2 separate regions of the Homo sapiens genome follow, and region 2 is linked to region 1. The links are contacts of gene promoters, found by promoter capture Hi-C in blood cells and fetal thymus (Javierre and others, 2016). All regions are on one chromosome and are shown on one strand. The core of a region is centred on a gene start or on the middle of the fragment in contact, and the rest is flanking DNA. Distances in the headings are between cores, read along the strand shown. Region 1 holds the start of LPIN3 (lipin 3). Region 2 overlaps ZHX3 (zinc fingers and homeoboxes 3).

Evidence for each region. Contacts are between HindIII fragments. The CHiCAGO score rates a contact against its expected background, and 5 or more counts as called.
Region 2: a contact is called between a fragment that was not itself captured here and the fragment with the promoter of LPIN3 in region 1, in 5 of 17 cell types (non-activated CD4 T cells, naive CD4 T cells, endothelial precursors and 2 more). The highest score is 6.0, in non-activated CD4 T cells.

What each region holds. Positions count from the first base shown.
Region 1 is chr20:41,338,314-41,345,341 of GRCh38, reverse strand. LPIN3 (lipin 3) reads right to left here and starts at 4,521. Exons shown (of 20, transcript NM_022896.3): 1 at 4,340-4,521. RefSeq lists a silencer at 4,540-4,699 and an enhancer at 4,860-4,909. The HindIII fragment of the contact is 12,951 bases long and covers 1-7,028 here.
Region 2 is chr20:41,236,491-41,243,518 of GRCh38, reverse strand. The region is part of intron 2 of ZHX3 (zinc fingers and homeoboxes 3); the gene reads left to right. Among named protein-coding and RNA genes, the nearest start is that of MIR6871, 71 kb to the right of the region's middle. The HindIII fragment of the contact is 2,099 bases long and covers 2,022-4,120 here.

The DNA.
Region 1 (7,028 bases), core at 3,272-5,771:
TCATAACTATGAAGGAGGGAACCTGAGATCTGAACCCAGGTTTGTGTGGTTCCACTGGGATGGTCCAACTGTGAAAACGGAGGGGGTGGGAAGAGGGGGCAGCCTCATTAGATAGCAGGCCCAGGGCCCTGCTGGATAATGGGTGACTGTGCTAATGAGTACTCTTCTTTTCCCAAGAAGTGGGAACGAAGGAGCCTCCACTTTTCCATCTGAGAAATGGGCTCAGCTGTCTTGCTATCTGCTGGTCCTGTGAGTTGGAAGGTGTCTTGCTGGGCGATTGTAGCTGACTTATGGGGGACCAAGGGTGGGAGCACCCCAGGTACTCAAGGCTCTGTTCAGCCCCATTCCTGGGGTCAGATGCTCAAGGCAGAGCATCCCCTATAGCTGGGGGCTTAAGGCCCCAAACTACAAATTCCTTCCCAGTTTCCCTGGTGGGAAGCCTGTCCATGCACAGCCTGACCCCAGCGGTGTCCAGGCTATAGTTCTCAGACCCCAATTTCAACCCTAACCCCAGCTCCTCAGACCAGGGCTGAGCTGGCTAGGCGCTCAGACCCACAATCAGGCCTTGGGCTGGCCTCAGCCCACTGAAGCTGCTCCCTCCCCCAGCCAGACCGGTCTCTCCAGCTTTCCCACACCAGACAGGCCTGGGTAAGCCCAAAGCAGGAGGCTGAGGCGGCCTCAGAGAAAAAACAGGGCTATGATGAGAGCCTCCTCCAAGCTGGCACAGTGCCTGCCCCAGCAGCTTCAGGTGATCACCCCTGCCCTCCTGGCCAGGCCAGTGGCCTGCTGCCCCTCTGCCTGCCAAGACCCAGACTGTCCTATCTCTACAGAGCACTTTCTTCTCTCAGACCCTGGGTCAGAACCCCTGGAGGACAGCCTGCCATGCAAGACCACTTAGCAAAGAAGCTAAGTGACTTACCCAAGGTTAAGTGACTTTACAGGTGAGGAAACTATTCAAGCTCTTCTAAGCTGACAGGCCATAGAAGGGGTATAGGGAGGGGAGAGAGGGAGTAAAGACTCATATCCAGCTCTCCTGACTCTAGAGCATGGTCTCCTTCCACTCCATGCTTCCAAACCACCCAAGAGTTGGTTGCATGGCCCATGGCCACTTCTGCACAGCCCTGCAATGCCCTGCACTCAAAATGTGGTATGCACCAGCAACAAACATCAGCATCAGCATCACCTGGGAGCTTGTTAGAAACAGAAACTTAGGCCCAACTCAGCCCTACTGAATCAGCATCTGCATATTTTTCTTTTCTTTTCTTTTCTTTTTTTTTTTTGAGACAGGATCTCACTCTGTTACCCAGGCTGGTGTGCAGTGGCACCAAAATGACTCACTGCGGCCTCAACCTCCCAGGCTCTAGTGATCCTCCTGCCTCAGCCTCCTGAGTAGCTGGGACTACAGGCATGTACCACCATAACTGGCTAACTTTTAAATTTCTTTTGTAGAGACAGGGTCTCACTATGTTGCCCACGTTGGTCTCAAACTCCTGGACTCAAGTGATCCTCCCACCTTGGCCTACCAAAGTGCCGGGACTACAGGCGTGAGCCATTGCACCTGGCCTAGCATCTGCATTTTAACAGGATCCCGAGGTGATTCCTGCAGCCTTTCATGTGTTTGAAAGGAACTGCTTTTGTGTTCCCAGTCCACAGTCTACTCTTGGAAGAGCCTAAACGACAAGACCCCCACCTCCACAGCATTTCTCAGATAATGCCACATCCTGCCCATCCTAGGACATCGGATGAAGCAGTGGATTCTTTCAGTCTATGTCAGAGCGTCACAAACATAAGACACAATTCAAATTGCCAAAGTGAAAATGGGATGAAATGAAACTCCCTGGACCCCTAAGATGTCACTCAAATCAAGTTTATCTGCAAGGCACCTGCCATGTGCTAGATGGGACATTTCCACTTTGGTTTCTCCCTACCTAATGCCAAACTCTGAATACAGGTCTGGGGAGACAGAGTGGTGACAGACACTTGGTGGGCAGACCTCTAAACCACTGTGCCCAGGAAAAGCAGAGAGGACTCCAGAGGCTTCCAGGAATTAAGGAGCAAGCATGGGGAGGGGCAGAGCCGGGGTTGGGGCAAAGGTCCATCCAGCTGGAGGCCCAAGCCTGAGCTTTCTGCCCTATTAAGCCCTAGTGCAGTTTCTCAGCTTCAGCATTACTGTCCTTTGGGGCCAGATAATTCTTTGCTGGGGGGTGGGTGGGTGCACTGTAGGATATTCAGCAGCATCCCTGGTCTCTGCCCATTAGATGCCAGTAGCACTTCATCCCCCGCAGCTCCAGGTTGTGACAGCCAAATTGTCTTCAGACATTTTTAAATGTCTCCTGGGGGACAAAATTGCCCCCAGCTGAGAACCACGATCTAGTAGAAAGGGCCGAATAGCAGAGATGGCACCCGGGGTCCTACTCGGATCCAGCCCTGGAGTATTCTCAGGCAAGTAACTGGCTGGCCTCAGTTTCCCCTTCTGTGAACCAAGGCCTCAGTTTTTTAGACCCATCTCCCTCAGATCTAATGTCACGGGAGTCCAGAATTCTCTCCTCTCTCTGTTCCCCCCACTTCACCAATGGATGTCCCCCACATCTGCCTGCTCGGCATTTTGGGGGCCTTCTGTGAGCCCCCCACATCTGCCTGCTCAGCATTTTGGGGGCTTCCAGTGAGCCCCCCCACATCTGCCTGCTCAGCATTTTGGGGGCCTTCTGTGAGCCCGCCTCTGTCTTCACCTATCCCTTAGGCACCCCCTTTTCCCAGGACCCAGCTCTACCTCCTTGTTCTTTTCCAGACAGAGGAGAGCTCTGCTTGGCTCCCCTCTATCACCCTCCACCCACAAACTAACATGTCTAAAATCAGCCACTTCACTCCTCACACCTTCCCAGGAAGCCGAATACCCCTTAGGACTAGTCACTACCCCTCTCTCCCTCCCTAGCCCTCTGAATCTTCTCCCCCAATTTCCTGCTCATCCAGCCCCTCCTTTCTCCAGCTGTCCTAGGTTAAGACTTTATAACCAGATGCCCAGATCACGGGTGGCCACAGGACATTAGGAGAAAAGGCACCAGATTATCTGGGTGCTGATCCCCACTCCGCCATTTGCTAGCTGTGACCATGGGCAAGTGACTTCATCTCTCTGACCCTCAGTCTCAGCCTCCAAAATGGGAATAACATCAGGCACGTGTGAGTAACTAATGACTTTGTGTAAAGCCCTGGAATGCAATAAAAACCTGTATGTACACCTATCAGCAGCAGCATCATGACAGCCCCACTCATGCAGGCTGGTCCTGTGGGCACTGCAGGTCATACTCTGATGAACTGCCCCTGCCAGCAGTTGAGAGTTTGGACTTCTTTTATTTATTTATTTTTTTGAGATGGAGTCTTGCCCTGTCACCCAGACTGGAGTGCGGTGGCATGATTTTGGCTCACTGCAAGCTCCGCCTGCTGGGTTCAAGCAATTCTCCTGCCTCAGCCTCCCGAGTAGCTGGGACTACAGGCGTGTGCCACCACACCCGGCTAATTTTTTGTATTTTTAGTGGAGACGGGGTTTCACCGTGTTAGGATGGTCTCGATCTCCTGACCTCATGATCCACCCGCCTCAGTCTCCAAAGTGCTGGGATTACAGGCGTGAGCCACCGCGCCCAGCGGAGTTTGGACTTCTTAACTTGGCACTCAAGGCCATGCACAATGGTGGCACCACTATTTGCAAAACGAGCATGTGCACTCCACGTAGGCCTCACACCCCACCTTGGGGATGTTCACAGGCCTTCCAGGCTAGACTACAACTCTAGCACAGGGAAGCCAGAGCAAGCTGCCCTAGGACTAGGCTCTCAGCCCTCGGGGCTCCCAGGTTTGGGTGGATGAAGGGTGTGGCTCTCCACCGAGGACCAGAGGGAGCAGGAGAGTAAGCACTCCTAGTGCCCCAGTAGAGAGAAAGCGCCACCCCAGCCCCCAGCAGCTACAGCATCTGATCTGCCCAGTCTCAGGGCAAGCAGGGCAAGGGCCAGTCACTGTTTTGCAACTGAGGACACTGGGTACCAGAGAAAGTGGCTGTCCTCCTCAAGGTCACACAGTCAGGCTGGGGTAAAGCTGGGCCAGCCTCCCCTGGGAGGTTTCGACGTCTCCTCTCCAGACTCTACGTTCTGGGTGTCCAGGGGGCCTGCAGCCGCTGGGCCAGGGAAAAAGGGACAAAATGAGGCCAGTCCCTCCACCCCTGCGTCCCCATCTTACAGCTAGGGGTGGACCCAGGCCCGCGGACAGGAAGGAAGGAATGTAGGATGGCAGGACAGATGGGCAGGGCGGGAGGGGAGAGGGTCATCTCTTCTCCCCCCGAGTTGGGCCCTACCTGGGGAGCTGCCCACTGGAGCTCCTGGACTCAGAGCCGCCGCCTCTACCTACGTGCACAGGCTCCACAGGTGAGTGTCTTCGGCCCTCAGTCACTTGGCGCTTCCGGGTCCTCTAAGACAGGGTGAGAGCACGGCTCCACTCCTTCTACGATCCTAGTGCGGCCTCCACAGGCCCCAATCTGCCCAGGCTCCACTCCCTGGAAAGACCCCGCCCCTGCTCCGATCCCCGCCCAGGGCGCCCTTTGGCCTCGGAGGCGGGGGCGGGGCCAGACTTCATGCCCCGCCCACCAGACCCCGCCCCAAGTCCCTGTGCCACCGCCTGCCCCACCTCCAGAAAAGTGTGGATTTCGGAACGGGGCGGACCTAGCTCCTCCCAGATTTGCTTCCAGCTTGCTGTGTGATCTTGGGTGAATTCCTTCCTCAATTTGATCCCATTTCCTGTTTTGTCAAGGGGGAAAGCCGCCTTGCAGGATTTTAGAGATGACATGAAATGACTTTGCGCGGCTCCTGGCGCTCAAACGTCCCCTCCTGGGGGCAGCTTTTCCTGAACCCACCCGTATCTCCCAGACTGGACAGGCCCCTCGCGTCATCTGTTCGCATAGCCCACAGTTGTAATTTCATATTTGCTTGAATGACTACTTGATTAATGTATATCTCTTCATTTAAATTTGAACTCTGAGAGCAGGTCACGTACATCCTTACACTCCAGCGCTTATCAGTACCTCGCCTGACAAACAGCAGGCGCTCCATAAATGCCCGCACCTTCATTCCATCCCTGGGACGTTCTGGTCGAGCGGCAGCGGGCTCAATACTGACACTGGCCAGCAGGGGGCAGGCGGTGATCAGCCTTCTGGCCCAGCCGCGCTCCCTCCCTGTCTGCAGGCACTGCGGGAGGGGACAGGTGAGCCCAGGTGCGCCGAGGCACGCGGAAGGTGCATTTACTCTCGTGCCTTGGGCAAGGCCCGGGCCGGGAACGGCTTTTTCCTCTTGGATCTGTGGCTCGCGGCTTTCCTGGACCAAAGACCTTTCCGACGCCCTATGGCCCCTGCAAAGAAGCTGCCCTGAGAAGGGCCTGGAGATGAAGTAATTTGTTCTAAAAGAGAGAGGGCACCGAGGAAAGGCTTGGCGGAGCAGCAACGGCGACGAGCCAGGCTTAGAAACGACTGGGCGGTGAGGAGGAGAGGTAGCTGCCATTATTCTGACTCAGGGTGACAGAACCTGTTTGGAAGTGACTGGCCTCAGTTGTCCTCATTTTGGCAGAAGTCATTTAGTATCAGTCCTGATCCCAGGTAGTGTCTGGCTGCTATCTCAGAAGAGCCCTGTTGGGAGCAGAGCTATGTCAAGGTGGCCAGGAGGGCAGCGTCATACATACCATTTTCTGTAACATCAGGAAATCCCTGAAGGGAGCCCGAGAAGGAAGGAAGGAGAGGTCACAGGTTGGGGCTACAGATGCCGAAATCAATTTACCTCTTTGAGCCTCAATTTCATCGGCAAAGGTGGTGATAAAAGCTACCTTGCAGGATTCTATTGTGAGGATTTACAGGATGAATTAAATAAGTGGTTCTCAACCTTGACTGTGTGTTAGAATCACTGTGCCCTAGACGAATACTGATGCCCCGGATACTGGGAGTTTAAAAACCTCTCCAGTTGGTTGTAATGTACAAACAAGGCTGAGAACTGCTGATCCAAATTAAATGCAGAGCACAGCGCCAGGGCACACACTAGGCATTCAGGAATGTTTATCACATATTTATTTTTATTTAAAAAATTTTTGTGTCACACATTTTTAAAGATGGAGCACAAATTGTTTTCATTGTTCATTGTTAGAGGAAAAAAAGTTGATATAAAGGTTGTTGCAGAAATTGCATTTGCGGCTGGGGTGAGGTGGCTTACGCCTGCAATCCCAGCACTTTGGGAGGCAGAGGTGGGCGGATCGTCTGAGGTCAGGAGTTGGAGACCAGCCTGGCCAACACGGTGAAACCCCATCTCTGTTTTTTTGTTTTTGTTTTTGTTTTGAGATGAAGTCTCGCTCTGTCACTCAGGCTGGAGTGCAGTGGCACCATCTCTGCTCACTGCAAGCTCCACTTTCCGGGTTCACGCCATTCTCCTGCCTCAGCCTCCTGAGTAGCTGGGACTACAGGGGCCCATCCCCATGCCCAGCTAATTTTTTGTATTTTTAGTAGAGACAGGGTTTCACTGTGTTAGCCAGGATGGTCTCGATCTCCTGACCTCGTGATCCACCCACCTCAGCCTCCCAAAGTGTTGGGATTACAGGCGTTAGCCACTGCGCTCGGTCCCCCGTCTCTATTAAAAATACAAAAAAAAAAAAAATTAGCCAGGCATGGTGGTGCACAGCTGTAGTCTCAGCTACTCAGGAGGCTGAGGCAGGAGAATCACTTGAACCGAGGAGGTGGAGGTTGCAGTGAGCTGAGATGGCGCCTCTGTACTCCACCCTGGGTGACAGAGCAAGACATTGTCTCAAAAAAAAAAAAAAAGAAAAAGAAAAATTGCATTTCTGACAGGCTCGTTTCTGGAACTCTCAATCATCTGGGATTTGGTGATGAGGGTAGGAGAAGAAAGGCAGATAGAACAGCCTCTGCTAGTATGACTTGTTCTAACACTGAATGGAACTGAATAAGGCAGAGACTGTCCCACTCTAGCTTGTGGTTGACATCACCATCTCCAGGG
Region 2 (7,028 bases), core at 1,822-4,321, 100 kb after region 1:
AGGTAAGACAGAAATAATATCCATTTCCTAAGACTGTTTGAGTCAGTGAGATGTTAGCATAGAACCTGGTCCATAGTGGTCATTCAAATATGGATTGAATCGGGAAAATGAAGCCAAGGTTCCAGATGTGACCCTGATAATAATTGGCTCATGGGGAAGAATGGAACTGTTTCTTATTACCTTGATAGCGGCAATCTTAATTCCAGGCAGCCACGTCAGGTAATTACACTTCTTGAGAATGAAGAGAAGCCCTACTGATGCTGGGCTGGTAGCACATCCTATTCACTGTGGAATTACTAGAAAGTGTTGGTGCTTTCTCCTAATTTCATGGAAGCAAAGGGAAATCCCATATGCCTCTGACTCCCCATTATTTTATAGAGGAAGTATTTCTCCCTCTCTTGGAGCACTGGGAACCTAGAAGCATACCCTGAAGGTTGGGAGGTCTGCCCCGACCTGGGTACCCAGAAGTCTGCTGCTTTGTAAAGGGACTGCTGAGGCATGAGAGGGACACCACATCCACTTAGACCCACGACTTCCTGGTACATGGAGACAAGCACAGAGGAAGTGGTATTACATTTTTTTAGACATTATAAGACATTTAGCTTTTTCCACCAAGCTAAAAGGTTAGTGACAGTTGATCCTGTGGGCAAAGACAATTGCCATATGCTCTTAGGGATAGGGTTATAAAAATCACTTAATTATTAAACAATGGAAGTACTATCTAGTATTTGGCCAGAGGATTTCAAACTTCCTCCATATATGGCCTTATGTCTAGAACAGAATAGAAGTCTGTCCACATCAGGGAAAGAGCTGATTCCATCCTTGGAGATAACTTTGAAAGGTCTTAAGGCCTGTCAAAACGTCATTGGTTTTCCATTCTGTCAGTGGCTAAAGACATAGTACACTAGTAGATCATGGGTCAGAGGCCAGCAGACAGATTGTGTTTGATCAGTTAGGCATCAGTGTTCACAGGGTTCACAAAGCTAACAGCTGTGTATGTGGCTCCTCCTCACCCTATTTGCATTCTTTGATTTCTCCTAAGCCACTTTACTCCATATCTCAGGACTTAGCTCTTCACTGTAAATATACTCTTTCTACTCCTCACCCTTAATGGATGTTTGTGTTTTCTTGTCAGCCAGATGTGCTGTGGTTAAGAATCTAGGCTTTGGAATTGGGAGTACCTGGCTTTGAATCCTTGCTGTTGCCTGTTGCTTGTGTGACTGAGTCAAATGACTTAGCCATTCAAGCCTTGGTTTCCCAATTTGGAAAATCAAGTTGATATTTAGCTCATAGGGTTATTGTGAGGATCAAATTAAATGAGAAAATAAATGTAAAGCACAGTGCCTGACATCCTATAATTTTATCCAGTTGATGGTAGTAGTAGTTGTTACACTTCTTGAGGGCAGAGACAACTATAGTTTTGAACTCTTCCTCCTTGTACCCTGTCTCTTAGAGCTGAGCATCTAGTAGCACTCAAATATTTTAAAATTTGAAATAATGACAGGTGCACACATGTACACACACACACATGCACACTCAGAGGATAATCTGATAATGACAGTAATTTAAAACACTCTAGAGGTCATGATTTTAAAGTGCTTGAGCTTACTTTTATAAATATGATACATAAGGGGTCTAATTCATGGATTGGAAGAATAAATATTGTTAAAATGTTCATACTACCCAAAGCAATCTACAGAGTCAATGCAATCTCTATCAAAATATGAATGACATTCTTCACAGAAATAGAGAAAACAATTCAAAAATTTTTATTGGAACCACAAACAACCCAGAATAACCAAAGCTATCCAGAGCAAAAAGAACAAAACTGGAAGAATCACATTACCTAACTTCAAATTATACACAGAGTTATAGTAACCAAAACAGCATGATATTGGCATAAAAACAGACACATAGACCCATGAAACAGAAGTGGGCAAAGATTTCTTGAGTAATACCTGGACAAGCACAGGCAACCAAAGCAAAAATGAACAAATGGAATCACATCAAGTTAAAAAGCTTCTGCACAGCAAGGGGAACAATTAACAAAGTGAAGGGACAACCCACAATATGGGAGAAAATATTTGCAAACTACCTTTCTGACAAAGGATTAATAATCAGAATATATAAAGAGCTCAAACAACTCGATAGGAAAAAAATCTAATAATCCCATTAAAAATGGGCAAGGGATTTGAATAGACATTTCTCAGAAGACATACAAATGGCAAACGGGCATAGGAAAAAGTGCTCAGCATCATTTATCAGAGAAATGCAAATCAAAACTACAAGGACATATCACCTCACCCCAGTTAAAATGACCTTTATCCAAAAGGCAGGCAATAAGTAACAAATGCTGGTGAGGATATGGAGAAAAGGGACACCTTGTACACTGTTGCTGGGAATGTAATTTCCCACTGTGGAGAACAGTTTGGAGGTTCCTCTAAAAACTAAAAATAGAGCTATCATACAATCCAGCCATCCCACTGCTGGGTATATACCCCCAAAAAGGAAATTAGTATATCGAAGAGATATCTGCATACTTATGTTTATTGTAGCACTATTCACAATAGCCAAGATTTGGAAGGCAACCTATGTGCCCATCAACAGATGAATGGATAAAGAAAACTGTAGTACATATACACAATGAAGTACTATTCAACGATACAAAAGAATGAGATCTTGTCATTTGCAACAACATGGATAGAACTGGAGGTCATTATGTTAAGTGAAATAAGCCAGGAGCAGAAAGACAAACTTTGCATGTTCTCAGTTATTTGTTGGAGCTAAAAATTAAAAGAATTGAACTTATCGAGATACAGAGTAGAAGGATGGTTACCAGAGGCTGGGAAGGGTAGTAGGGTGAGTGACGGGGGGGAAATAGGGATGGTTCGTGGGTACAAAAAAATTGAATAAGACCTAGTATTTGCCAGCACAACAGGGTGACTATTGTAGAAAATAATCGTACATTTACAAATAACAGTATAATTCAAAGGATAAATACTTGAGGCGATGAATTCCTCATTTACCCTGATGTGATTATTATGCGTCACATGCCTGTACCAAAATATCTCATGTAACCCATAAATATATATACCTACCATGTACCTACAAAAATAAACATTAAAAAAGGGGTTCTAAGATATGTGAGTTACTACTCTTTGCAGTAAGTTCGATGATTTGAAGGGAAAGCATCTGAGCTATATCATCTCAGCCCTCTGCCAAAGTAACTTCACTGGATTATGATATGATTTACTGTCCCATGCTCTGCCTTCTGGAGGATCCATGTAGGAATGGCCTGTTGACCAGCCTGGCCAACATGGCAAAACCCCCCATCTCTACTAAAAAAATACAAAAATTAGCCTGGCATGGTGGCATGCACATGCAGTCCCAGCTACTTGGAAGGCTGAGGCAGGAGAATCGCTTAAACCTGGGAGGCAGAGGTTGCAGTGAGCCAAGATGGCGCCACTGCCCTCCAGCCTGGGCAACAGAGCAAGAGACTGTCTCAAAAAAAAAAAAGGAATGGCCTATTGAGTGTGACTGCATCTTTCCAAACTAAGCCTCCTGCTTTACCTATTTTCTCTTAAACACAGTTCCAAGACATTCTTCTCCTTGGGTTTCCCTTCAAAAGAATTTATCTCTGTATAAGAATAAACATTTGTCTTTGTTAAACGATAAAAATAGTGTCACTTAAAATACATTTCCATATTTTCCCTTGATACTGGGAATCACAGGGTCAAATTCAGTGCCAGGTGAAGGGTGGAGGGCATTCTAATTGTTCCCCTTCTCACAATGTCTCTTCTCCCTCCCTCCCCAGTCCCTTCCATAGGAAACAGGGAATGTTTGTTTCTGTCTTCTGGTAGGAGAAGGATTGGTCCCACCCCCAGCTCCAGGGATGGATCTTGATTGTTTAAGCCCAGTCAGGTAAACCCCACACCTGTTGCACAGTGATTAACCCAGTGGCAGTCATGCCAAGAGGTTTGTTCATGGCTGGGCATGTGACCTGTGCAGGCCACCAGCATGCTTGCTGAGGACTTTGGGAAGAAGGCTCTTCAGTCTTCTGATAGACCTCCCCAAGACGGCCCTCTCTCTGTGTCCTTCTGGATGTTTGGGACATGAAGCTTGGGGCTGCTGGAGTTACCTTGCTGTCACGAGGGAAGCTACCCCTAGGATGTGGTTGACGAAGTAGAAAGAAAGAAAATAGGCCCTTATTGGCCAGGCACGGTGGCTCACGCCTGTAATCCCAGCACTTTGGGAGGCCGAGGCGGGCGGATCACGAGGTCAGGAGACCGAGAGCATCCTGGCTAACATGGTGAAACCCCGTTTCTACTAAAAAATACAAAAAAAAAAAATTAGCGGGGCATGGTGGTGGGCGCCTATAGCCCCAGCTACTCGGGAGGCTGAGGCAGGAGAATGGCGTGAACCCAGGAGGCGGAGCTTGCAGTGAGCCGAGATCATGCCACTGCACTCCAGCCTGGGCGACAGAGCAAGACTCCGTCTCCCAAAAAAAAAAAAAAAAAAAAAAAAAAGAGAGAGAAAATAGGCCCTTGTTTTCATCATAGAGCAACTGACTCAAACTCAACCTGAAGCCGCTGAACTTTCCATTTGCATGTGCCAGCAAACCACCTTTATTATGTAAGCCCTTTCAAATTAGGTTTCTTACTTGCATCTTAGAATCCAAATGGTGCTTAATAGATACATTTCCTTGTATTTTGTGTGTTTTAGTGATTCTAACCCATGGACCAAGACCCTGCCTTGGAGATTGGGGAACAGGTGTTGGAAGGGCTCTATTTTGGCAAAGAATGGATTATTTATGTGAGCATATTTCCGCAAAGTAAGGAAATGTCTTGCCTATATATGTATTAATATTTTTCAAATTTATCTTGTTTTGATGAAATATAAATTTAGATAAAAATACTAAAAATACTGAATTTGTAGGTTTTTATCCTGCATTTTTCACAATGAGCAGATGTTAGAAGCATCATGTAAATTTGTCCAAAAAGATGTTGTTTTTTGCAGAAATTTTTGACTTGAGGAAGAAGCTCTTGCTTAGATAGATGTTTCCACCCTCTGTCCCTCCTTCTTTTCCTTCCTTCTTCTCTTCTCCAGCCTTCACTCCCTGCTGCCTTCCTTTTTTTCCCTCTTAGTCTCTGTTATTACCCTGTTTTCCTTCTGTTGAGTCTTGTTACTCAAACTCTGTTAGAAATAGTTGAGATATAAATTCTAATTAATTTTATTTGGATGCCTATGTTAAGCTTCATTTAACTTTTCAGATCCTGCATCTATGAGTTCGACATAAATGCAAACAAATAATGGGTATTGAGTGCTTTAATAGCAAGGGACCCAAACTGAAGTTCATTCCCCATGCAACAAATTGGGTGTTGGATGGGAATGCTTATAATGATTGACCCCGGTTTTTGGTAGTAAGCAAGCAACTGCAAGTGAACTGTAACTGATGTATTTAATGAGTGCTCACTGTGTGCACATTGCCATTAGTGTAGCTGAGTGGTGCAGCACTGAACCCTTACCTCAAAGATCTTATAGTTCATTGGAGAGAAGAGACATGTACACCAGATACTGTGTAAGCCAGGGCTGTGTTTTATAAGGGAATATGTAAGTTGACATCTGGAACCTCTTTCTTAGAATTATCCTACCAGAAGAGCCCTCTAGAACCTTGTGTTTAATAAATATTGATCACCGCCATTATAAAATATGCTGTTTGTTAATAAAACATATTTTCTTTATTTTATTTTATTTTTTTAATTATACTTTAAGTTTTAGGGTACATGTGCACAACGTGCAGGTTTGTTACATATACATGTGCCATGTTGGTGTGCTGCACCCATTAGCTCTTCATTTAACATTAAGTATATCTCCTAATGCTATCCCTCCCCACTCCTCCTACCCCACAACAGGCCCTGGTGAGTGATGTTCCCCTTCCTGTGTCTGTGTGTTCTCATTGTTCAATTCCCACCTATGAGTGAGAACATGCGGTGTTTGGTTTTTTGTCCTTGCGATAGTTTGCTGAGAATGATGGTTTCCAGCTTCATCTATGTCCTTACAAAGGACATGAACTCATCATTTTTTATGGCTGCATAGTATTCCATGGTGTATATGTGCCACATTTTCTTAATCCAGTCTATCTTTGTTGGACATTTGGGTTGGTTCCAAGTCTTTGTTATTGTGAATAGTGCCGCAATAAACATACATGTGCATGTGTCTTTATAGCAGCATGTTTTATAATCCTTTGGGTATATACCCAGTAATGGGATGGCTGGGTCAAATGGCATTTCTAGTTCTAGATCCCTGAGGAATCGCCACACTGACTTCCACAATGGTTGAACTAGTTTACAGTCCCCCCAACAGTGTAAAAGTGTTCCTATTTTTCCAGATCCTCTCTAGCACCTGTTGTTTCCTGACTTTTTAATGATTGCCATTCTAACTGGTGTGAGATGGTATCTCATTGTGGTTTTGATTTGCATTGCTCTGATAGCCAGTGATGATGAGCATTTTTTCATGTGTCTTTTGGCTGCATAAATGTCTTCTTTTGAGAAGTGTCTGTTCATATCCTTTGCCCACTTGTTGATGGGGTTGTTTTTTTCTTGTAAATTTGTTTGAGTTCTTTGTGGATTCTGGATATTAGCCCTTTGTCAGATGGGTAGATTGCAAAAATTTTCTCCCATTCTGTAGGTTGCCTGTTCACTCTGATGGTAGTTTCTTTTGCTTTGTAGAAGCTCTTCAATTAGATCCCATTTGTCAATTTTGGCTTTTGTTGCCATTGCTTTTGGTGTTTTAGACATGAAGTCCTTGCCCATGCCTATGTCCTGAATGGTATTGCCTAGGTTTTCTTCTAGGGTTTTTATGGTTTTACGTCTAACATTTAAGTCTTTAATCCATCTTGAATTAATTTTTGTATAAGGTGTAAGGAAGGGATCCAGTTTCAGCTTTCTACATATGGCTAGCCCGTTTTCCCAGCACCGTTTATTAAATAGGGAATCCTTCCCCCATTTCTTGTTTTTGTCAGGTTTGTC